Regions from separate parts of the Homo sapiens genome. Here region 2 is linked to region 1. Evidence: promoter capture Hi-C in 16 types of primary human blood cells and fetal thymus (Javierre and others, 2016). All regions are on one chromosome and are shown on one strand. The core of a region is centred on a gene start or on the middle of the fragment in contact, and the rest is flanking DNA. Distances in the headings are between cores, read along the strand shown.

The links. Contacts are between HindIII fragments. The CHiCAGO score rates a contact against its expected background, and 5 or more counts as called.
Region 2: a fragment that was not itself captured here is called in contact with the fragment with the promoter of FBXO41 in region 1 in 1 of 17 cell types (total CD8 T cells); the score reaches 5.8 in total CD8 T cells.

The regions. Positions count from the first base shown.
Region 1 is chr2:73,282,661-73,287,620 of GRCh38, reverse strand. FBXO41 (F-box protein 41) reads left to right here and starts at 3,143. Exons shown (of 13, transcript NM_001371389.2): 1 at 3,143-3,461. LOC124907840 (a long non-coding RNA gene) reads right to left here and starts at 3,087. Exons shown (of 2, transcript XR_007087013.1): 1 at 3,039-3,087; 2 at 1,502-1,713. RefSeq lists silencers at 2,117-2,166, 2,177-2,356, 3,087-3,496, 3,517-3,606. The HindIII fragment of the contact is 9,972 bases long and covers 1-4,960 here.
Region 2 is chr2:73,080,537-73,085,670 of GRCh38, reverse strand. It overlaps RAB11FIP5 (RAB11 family interacting protein 5), which reads left to right. Exons shown (of 6, transcript NM_001371272.1): 4 at 4,008-5,134. Among named protein-coding and RNA genes, the nearest start is that of SFXN5, 11 kb to the right of the region's middle. RefSeq lists an enhancer at 996-1,290. The HindIII fragment of the contact is 2,580 bases long and covers 95-2,674 here.

The DNA of each region.
Region 1 (4,960 bases), core at 1,894-4,393:
TATAGAAGAGAATACTGAAGCCCAAGATGTTGGGGATTTTCTGAAGGGCACACAGATAATAAGAGAATGAAATGGGCCTTGAACCTGGGCCTTCCAGTTCCAAGACCAGTGCATATCTAAATATCCACTCACTCCACAGATACTGAGTGCTACTACATGCTGGGCCAGTGATTCCCAACTATTTTACTTCCTGGGGCACCTGAGAAATTCGACACACACATCAGTAACAGAGGCTCACTCAAGTCCTGATTCTCACACCAGAAAGGTGGGAAAAAGTAATACAAATCTTGATGAGGTGGGATATGGGGGGGAAGTTTGAGAAAGCAACCCAGAATGTTTGCTATTTTCTCCCTCTTCACCCCAACTCCTGTACCCTATTTGAGACAAGCCTACACTATGCCAAACTGCGTCCTGTGGTCCCTCTGCCTCCATTATGCCTCTTTCATTCCACATTGCCCAGCATTAATGATGAAAATTTCCTAATACACCATTCACAACAAACAAGAGCTTCATCCCAAACTGACCAAGGTTTCCACCCTCCTATAAAAACAATACCTATTTTTCACCCTTGCTGTGAAAGCCCTCTATATCTGATCCAAATTCACCTTCCAACCTCCTCTGTCATCTCTCCCTTTGTGCTTTGCTCTGCCACCTCCCTTCCCCCACCAGTTATCCAAATGCTCCCACCTTTGAGCACCTTCAAGGGCAGAAACCTCATTTGATCCACATGTGTGGTCCCCATATCACCAAGTCTAACATGAAAGTGCTTAATTATTGTGTCAATTAGTTGAACAACAACAACAAAAAAAACCCAAAAGGAGAAGGGAAACAGAAAGGGGAAGGAGGAGGGAAGGAAGGTGGTTGGAGAGCATGAAGCTGGCAAAGAGAGAGGGAGGAGAAAGGATCAGGAGGGAAAGATGGGAAAAAGCAGGACTGAGGACCGAGTCTGCAGCAAGGGGCCCTGATAGGCACCATAGGCCTCATGAGTGGGTCTACACCTCTGGCTAGTCTGGGTCTTTCCAGCTCTTGCTGAGCCCACAATTCTTTGCCTCAGCTCTGGGACCCCAGAGGTGTCTCCGTCACTGAGCTCTCTCTCTCTTTTGGTTTCTCTGGTTCACATGGAGTGGGATTCAGTTTAACATTTTTAGAACTGTGGTTCCCATAACAACCAAGCAGGAACTGTTGTCTGTGAAATGTAGCATGGGCACACAGGCGCACAAATACACATGCATACATTCACAGACATATGCGCACACACATGCACACAGGTGCAAATACACATGCATGAACTCTTACCCACACATACATGCATGTGCTCACAGATACACACATGCACCTATGTACACTTGCATATGCACAAGTGTACACCTGCATACACACACACATCCACACACTCATGCACACATGCACAAAAGCACCCACATACATAGCCATGCATGTCCCAAATTGTTTTGACACATTCACAGGATGCACAGAGTGAGGAGAAACATCACAACAAAGGTGAAACCAAGACAATATATGGACATTTTTGGCCATCTGCAAGAGCAGATGGATTTGGGGAATCTGCATTTTGACATGTGAAGGTCCAGTGGACTGTATTATAGCAGAGAAGGCAGGAGGGCACTGTGGTTGAGCATAGACTTTGGAGTTTGATGACTTGAGTTCAAGTCTTGACTATGCCATGTGTTGAGCTCTGAATTTTAGCGTCTTCATCTGCAAAGTAGGGATAATAATAATATTAGGAAGAGCAAATGATATGCATAAAAATTATTAGCATGATGCTTGGTGCCTGGTTAATAGGAGCTGTTATCGTTTGGGTATTAGGAAAAGTGATTTCTCATTTGTCCAATCTCAGAAGACCTCCGCGAGGAGGAAAGAAATTCAGGAGCTACAGAGAGGAAGAGAAGATCGAGAGAGGGGGAATTCAACCTGATTGGCCACTGTACAGCCTCTGTCCTTATTAAGTTTGCCATTCCCCCAAAGCCACTGACAAGTTTACAAATTATCCTTCCTGATACTGAATGTCCCAATGCCTCTGCCTTCACAGGAATGGGATGGGGGTCAAAGAGAATTCCCATGAGCCCGAGTTACTGGAATCCTGGGACTAAGTTGGGTTTCTGCTCTCCTGCAACCAGATTGCCCCTCAAGGCACATGTGCACAGCCCTACCCAAGCACCACCCTCAGGCTGAAATAACACTTCCCCCTCAAGGCACATGTGCACAGCCCTACCCAAGCACCACCCTCAGGCTGAAATAACACTTCCCCCTTTTCTCATCCAAGCCTCAGCTCTGCTCTGGCCTTGGTTGCCTCCAAACCCTGTGTGGTTTCTCAGCCCCACTGCAGCCCTGTGGACTTCCTCCAAGCGTACGACAGCCAGATTGTTTCTGCCTCACCAGCTTGGTAGGCCTTAGGCCAAAGGTGGGGCCGTCTAGGTGCTCCAGTCCCAAGAAGCCTGGCTGCTATCTTAGCCAAATGGTGGGAGTGGGTAGGAGGGAACCAGGGACCTGGAGGCCTTTTCCTCCTCCTCTAGGTCCGGGATGGGATTTGTGATGGGTACACGTGTTCCTAGGCGGCTCTTTAAGAGCAGAATTGGGTCTCCGGATGGGGTCCAGCAGCAGTTCCGCGGGTTCCCTAGGAATGCCCAGAGGGGATCATCCCAGGCGGTCTCCGCGGAGACCAAGCATCTGACCCGAGGTCGCCGAGTGCACGACCCAGGCGCGCTGCCCATGAGGCCGCTTAGGGACCGTGGCGCATGTCTCAGGAGTAGCGCCTGCGCCCGCCCCCTTCCGGATTCACAGAACCACCCACCCCCGGATTTGCCCCCGCGTGGAAGCAGGCCCAAGCCAGAGTGCTAGGGTTAGGGCGGAGAGGCCCTGATTCAAGGTGGGCAACAGAAGCCACAGCTGGAGGTGCCCAGGGCGGGGAATGCACTGGGCGGTGCCGGGAGCCGGGAAGACTGGGACCCGGGAGGAGCGCGGCGCGAGCCATCCCTACACCCCTAGGGCGGCGCCGAAGACCCCTCCCCCATCGAAACCACCTTGAGCGGAAAACGTGGGGTCCCGGCGCAGCCGCTGCTGGGCGCATCTGCCGCTCCCCAGCTCACTGGAGAGCCCGCCCCGGAGGAGGGGCCGGCTCCGCCCCACCTCGGTGCTGCCTCCCTCCCCCTTCCCTTGCTTTCCTCGGCCCGCGCGCCCCCTCCTCCCCCTCCTCCTCCTCCTCCTCCTCCATCCTTCCTCCCGCCGGGTTCGTGCGCCCCTCCCGCTGCGACTGGCTGGGAGGTTCGGCCGCCCCCGCCCCGAGAGGGAGGCGGGGGCGCTAGCCGCGGCGGCCACCCAAGGCTGCGGAGGGGAACGAGATCCGAGGCCCCAAGGCGGCCCTGCGTCTGGACCGGGCACGCGGGGGCTCTTCTGCGTCCCCAGCCCTGGGCCGCTGGGCCTGGCCTCGCCGCGGGGTGGAGGAGGTAAGGGCGAGTCGCGGGCACGCTGCGGGACTGCTCCCGGAGAGGGAAGGAGGGAGGACCCCAGCCACTGTCCCTTCTTCCCCTTCCGGCTCCTTCACAGCCCTCCGGAGGCCCGCGAGGCCGCCCAACGGGGAGGGATTCTGGGCAGGCCAGACCAGAGGCAGGGAAGGGGTTAATTTAAGAAATTAAAATCAGAACGTTTCGAGACCAGGCTTCCCCTCCCCCCTCTCGCCTGTCGCTCCCTGAGCCAGGTTTTGGGGCGGGGGCGGGCTCCAGAACCCCACTGGGACTCTGGACCTTGGAGAACAGGGGCCAGAGGGAGGGGGGAGGGGAAGCGCCCTGAAACCCCAACCCTCCCTACCGGTTTCTGAGGGGCTGGGGGAGGGGCCTGGTGTTGAGGCCTGGCTGGGCACCTGTGCGGGTGTCTGTGCGTGCCGGTGTGCACGTGTGATAGTCTGGAGGTGTGCATGTGTGTGCACGCATGTGTCTGTCTCTTCACATCCAGTGCCTGTACTGGTGACAGTGCTCACAGTGTCTCTGAATGTGTGCGCCCCTCCGCATTGCCTTGCATGTGAGTGTGTGTGACACGGGGCCTGTGTGCACTGCCCACAGTCGGCCAGCGAGTACTGTGTGGGCCTGCTCTCTCCTTAGGTCTCTCTGCAGCGAGGGGCCCAGATGGTTTTCTGGGTATGGGATCCAGGTTCTGGAGCCTGTGTGTGACCTTGGGAGGTGTATGCCTGTTTGCAGGAGCAGGAGAGTAAGGCAGGGCTTAGAACAGAAAAAGCAGTGCCAGGGCTGCTAGAAGGCAGAGGACTGGATGCATTGACCCCTGAGGGTCTTCGCCAGGCTGGAGTGACTACTCTGGGAGGTATACATGTTGGGGCCACAGCCACAGGTGTGGAGAGCCAGAGCCCCAGCCTTCTTGGGGGACTCAGAGGGATTTATAGAGGCAGTGGACATTCCTTTACTCCCCACCCACAGGGGCCTAATAGGGGTATAATGGGGACAACTCCGGCTGCCTCCCCCATCCTTAGGATACCTCCACCTGCTGGCAGATGCCTCCTAAAAGTACCGAGCTTAGAGCTTCATTTCTTTGGCTTGTAAATCCATCTGTTAACATCCAAACCTTCCTTCCCCATTTCTGTAATTTCCACCTTCTCAGCCCCTTTTCTGCATGTGGATTTTATATGGAAAGAGAGGGAAAGAACTGTTGGGCCCTGAAGGCCAAGTGGGATGAAGAGAGAAGATGCCATGAATGTGATGGGGAGGTGGGGACCGGGAGGCAGGGCCACCAGAAAACAAACTCTATTACCTTCTCAATTTTGCCTGATCTGAATTTAACAGAGAAAGAGACAGACACAGAGAGGGAGTTTGGTGATATCCACACAGTTGTTTCTAGATTTAGGAATGCCTAAATGGCTTCATTTTTGTTTTTGTTTTGGAATATTTGTTTGTTTTAGACAGGCTCTTGCTCTGTCACGAAGGCTGGAGTGCGGTGG
Region 2 (5,134 bases), core at 135-2,634, 200 kb after region 1:
CTGATGTGGCCTTTGTCTGCTGGGGGCCATGGCAGTCACACTGGGCCCCTACCAGTGTGTGCTGGAGCAGGGAGTAGGTAGTTGAGACCAAGCTTGTCTTGGCCACAGGACTTAGCCTCATTCCCCTGCCCTGTTATGAGCCATTCACACTGAGCTGCAGCACAGGCTACTTCACGTGTGTTTGAGGACAGGCAAGACCACGCATTTTAAACCCGCCAGGGCCAAAGTGGATTGTCTTTGTGTCTATCCCGGGTCATCCTTGTGTTCCCTTGTTCCCCGCCCCCCACACTAACCATAGGACTCTATGCACAGAAGGGGATCAAATGTTGATTACAAAAACTTTTAAAGTTGGGAATAAGTGTGGTACAACATAGAGATGAGTGTATCATGATGGTGGCCTCTGGCAGTCTCTGCAGTGCCTCCCTGCACCAGGTGTGGTAGGCAACAAGGTCCCTCCCTGTGGGCCTGGAATGTGCTGTGGCAGCGGAAGGAGCTTGGCTGCATTCTTGGTGGTGTAAATGAGTAACTATAATGTGCTCCCAGTGGCTTGGAGTTAGTGCAGCCTCACGTCCTGCTCTCCTCATGTGCTCCTCACAACCATGCTCTTGTCATGGTTACTGTATTAACAGTGTTCTGGTTTGGAAGATAAATGATACGTTCTCCCTACTTACAGCTTACAAGGCCCCTGTCACCTCATTGTGCCCAGGTGATGGGAGAGGATGTACCCGTCTCTTGGACATGTTTCCTGCACGTTGGGCCCATCTCAGGAGGGTCAGGAGGTCGTGCCTCAGGATGGAAGGCTGAAGGGCAGTGTTGCTAGAGATGAACGTGCCTCCAAGGCTGGCTTCGGCCTTTGGGGGATTGCCTGGTAGAGAGCTTGTGCAGATTCACTTGCCATCTCTGGGACCAGTGTGTGGAAATAACAAGGACACAGAGCTCTTTTCAGCCCAAGGAAGAGTTGTCTGCTAGTGACACCTGGCCTTCAGCTACAGAGGTAGCCCTGTGGTGTAGTGTTTAAGAAGAGGGGCTGTCAGGGTGAACAGGTGGTTCCTGTGTTGAGTGGCAGGTTCAACCAATTGTTCAGAGCTTCCTGCAGGCAGTAAAGTTTTATTCCCTCAGGTTGAAGGGGCAGAGACATCTGGACTTCTGACTTCCTTCCCAGCATTTGATCCTAAAAGAGAAGACAAATCAGCATATATTGCTGCCCCCACCGCTTGGGGGTGGGGAGAGTGTGCCAGGCCGGCACAGTAGGTTCTAGGATGCAGAGGTGTTTATTTGTTCTCAGAGCATGACCTGCAAAGACAAGCATACGTGGGAATATGTTCCTGACCTGGGCCAGGTGGAGTGGGAGGGAGATGTTTTGAAGTGAGAACCTTCAGAATGTGCACTTGGTGTGGAGCAAGGAAGAGGAAGGCATGAAGGAGGGATGTGTTACCAGATAGGAGGATGGACAGATGCCCTCAGAAGTACTGCTGGCTCTGTAAAGCCTGCCAGGCCTGGTGCTTGGAGTCCCTTCCTCCAGGGAGAGCCCTTTGCTGATTCTATACAAACAGGTTTGTGTGTACCTCTGGGGAGCTGGCCGGGAGAGGGAGGTTGCCGAGCCTAACCTGAGGCTCCCAGTCTACTCCCCTGCCGCTCTTGTCCCTGCAGTTCTGACTGCCAGCCAGGTTGCTGAAAGACTGCAAGGGTGAGTGCAGGCCAGGTTAGGGCTGAGGGGGCAGAGTTAAGCGTAGTGCTTTTAATGTTGATGGGACTCTCTTCCTTCAGACCACTGTGGCCTATTGTCATAAAGGGGGCTGGGGAGAGAAGCAGCTCAGAGTGCTCTAGCCCTGTTCCTGGGGGCCCGGGTCCTGTAGACAGGGTTGGGCTGGGTGTGGTATGGATGCACTAATGGCAAGTGGGCTGAGGTCAGGCTCTTGACCTGGTGGTGGTGTATGTTGCTTCTCACTCCCCTTGGTCCCCACAGCAGGCATGTGTGCCTTGGCCTGGGGCTTGTCTGGAATGAAGGGAGAAAGGGCATCTGCTGGGGTTGAGGCTCTGGGCCCACGATTCTTCCTCTTTTGGTATCTTCACCATGTCCATAGAAGCAGGGTAGTAGTGGAAGCCCAGGTGGGGTGGGAACAGGTGGGAATTTTTACCTCCCTCTCCCTCCATCTTTAGGTGGAGGGGATGAGACTGAGAATTTACCTTTGGATGGGGAGTTATTGTAAGGGGAAAAATAGGGTCAGGAGACTCTCGGGAAACTGATTCTTACGAGAAATCCCTGGGTTTGGGACCTGTGAGGCTGACCTCCCTTCTCCCAGAACCATCTTTGGAGCTACCTGTGCCTCTGTTTAGTTGGACTCCTTCCTGTGGTCCGCCCCTGGTGGTAGCTGCCGAGCTGACCTGCCTCAGTCCACCTCTGTGTGGGTCTGCCCTCTTTGGGCCCTGGGTTCCTGGGAGAATCCGGGCAAGCTCCAGACAGCTCATGCTCTTTCCACAGGTGCCCTTCCTACCCCAAGCCACACTCCTTATGGGCTGGCTGGCCAAAGCCCGGCTTCTGCCCCTTCAGGACTCACTGTCTACATTTCCTGTGCAAGAAGCTGGTTGGCTTGAAAAGTCGGATGTGTAGGGGTTTCCCCAGGATATTTCCACCTGGACAGGCAGGAGCCAAGGAACAGGGGTCCTGGAAGCTTAGAGCCAGGCCTGGGAGACCAGCCATGAGGAGGGAGACTGCTTAGAAGGCAGAGGGTGAGGCCACCGAGGTCTGCCTCTGACGGTGGCTCAGTGGCAAGGCAGCCATTTTTTCTGGCCTTCTGTCTGGGTCCTAGGGAAGTGAGAAGCTCTAGTTTGAGAGCACGCCCCTGCCCGCATCTCTGGAGTCGGCCTCACTCTGTGGATAAGCACCAGTGCAGGGGGCGTTTCCCCCAGAAAGGACCCTGTCCTGGACAGATGAAGGCCAGAACCTGTTCTCCAGTGTCCTAAGAGCACCTGCCCTGTCCCCGTCCCCAGAGTCCCTGAGAAGCCCCTGGTGACATCCAGAGTTGCTGCTGCTGTCACACTGCCAGCCTTGGCAGACAAAGGCTGGACCATCAGGGCACCTTTTGGTTGACGTTCTCCACAGGTGGCTTATATTCCTTAGCCAGTTAGGCTGCCCCTCAAAGAAACAAGACACCTTGTCACACCCAATGACAGCCCGTCATTACTTCTGCTTCTGCAAGGGATCAATAGAACCCAGGCTGTTTCAAGTGTCAGAATTCTAGGTGCCCTGCTAGGTCCTATAAGTTCTGGTTTTGTCCAGCCAGATACCTAGGCCTGGCCTTTCTCTGGTCTCTTTATCCCCCCATGCCAGCTGGTGTTTTCTTTGCTTTTAGTCCTAAAAGGGGCCAGGCTTAGTGGCTCATGTTTGTAATCCCAGAACTTTGGGAGGCCAGGTGGGCAGATCACGAGGCCAGGAGTTCGAGACCAGCCTGGCCAACATGGTGAAACCTCATCTCTCCTAAAAATACAAAAATTATTCAGGTGTGGTGGCACACACTGAGGCACAAGAATGGCTTGAGCCTGGGAGGCAGAAGTTGCAGTGAGCCAAGATCGCGCCACTGCACTCCAGCCTGGGCAAGAGACTCTATCTCAAAAAAAAAAAAAAAAAAAGGGATGTAAGGCGCTTTCAGATTAGTTTTCCCAGATGTAAATTCCTTGTTGAGTAGAACCTTAGAAGCTTCAGCATGGGATAGAGGAAAGAACACTTGGTTAGGTTTGGATCGGATCCTGCCTATCAGATGAGATGATTTCTCTCTGGGGTTGGAGTGAGCATTAAAATAGCTTTGCCTGGCATATTTCTCCTTGGGAGGCACTTGATAATGTTACATGTTGGGGTCTTCCCTCTGTACCCTGGCCCAAGTAGGTAAATCCAGCCTATGTGTGTGTTATGGCCCCTGGTCCCGAAGCAGGGGGTGGGGCGTGGGACTCAGGGGCCTTTCCAGTCTTGGCATTAACCAGGAGGCTCACGGTTTTGTCTCCCTCCACAGCCTGGACGTGTCTCCTCAGGTAGAATCTGACCCAGCTGCTCTTCCTCACCACCTCCCCTGCTCCCCCTGGGCTCCGGCCCCTCCCACTCCTGCTCCCACTGCTGCTCCCATGCTAAGCACTAACCTTTTTGCAGCCGCCTCCCCCGCTGCTGCCACTGCTGCCGCTGCCGCCACCACCGCCGCCCCTGAAGCCACCCCACCTGGATTATTGGGTCTTACCAACCCGTTCCTCACCTCTTTGCAGAGCAACCCCTTCTTCGAGGAGCTCATAGCCGACATAGCACTAAACTCTCCTTCACCTGCTCCCTCTCTCCCCAGTGCCTCGAGGGCCAGCCCCACCCCCCTGGCCTCCCCTGGGAAAGCCCTGCCTGAGTGGGACAACACCTTCAACGTCTTTGCTGCCAGCAGGCTGCGTCCAGAGGCCAGGAGCGAGATCCTGGCCCCTGCAGGAGTGGGGCTGGAGGCGGCAGGGCTGCAAGACCCAGGCCCTGGGGCCATGACTGCGAAGGCAGCTGAGCCCCAGGGAGAGCCTGGGGGAGGAGGAGGAGGAGGAGGAGGAGGAGGAGGAAGAGGTGGGAGCAGCGTGTGGCTGGAGCCCAGGGTTCCTCTGGACTTGGGACCGAACCACCAGAGCGCGAGCGCGGCTGACCCAGGGCTCCTCGGGTCGGTAGGGGCTGGCCTGCCCTCCTCGTCAGCCCAGCTACAGCTGAGAGCCTCAGGCTCAGAACCAGACAGGGAACTGCCAGCCCCGGAAGTGGAAGCAGGGCAGAGTCCGGCAGACAGTGGGACATCTCTATTTAGCTCCCCAGAAGTGATCAGTGTGTGGGAGAGGCTGCCGGGCCCAGAGAGCGCTGCTGAGGGCCAGGACGATGAGTCCTCCCGAGGCGAAAATCAGCTTTGCCCTGACGTCGAGACAGCTGATGATGCCTGGCCTTGGGATGTGGTCACCATTTCTCCTGCAGCTGAGACAGCCTCACTAGTCTTTCGGGGAGAGTCTGATGAGCCTGCTCCCCAGGTGCAGCCTGAATCACCAGAAACTGTGAGCCCCAAGGGGAGCGAGGGGCTTCCCCCACCGGAGCCCGAGCCTAAACCCGAGTGGGTGTCTGACAAGGGGCTGCAGCCCAGCA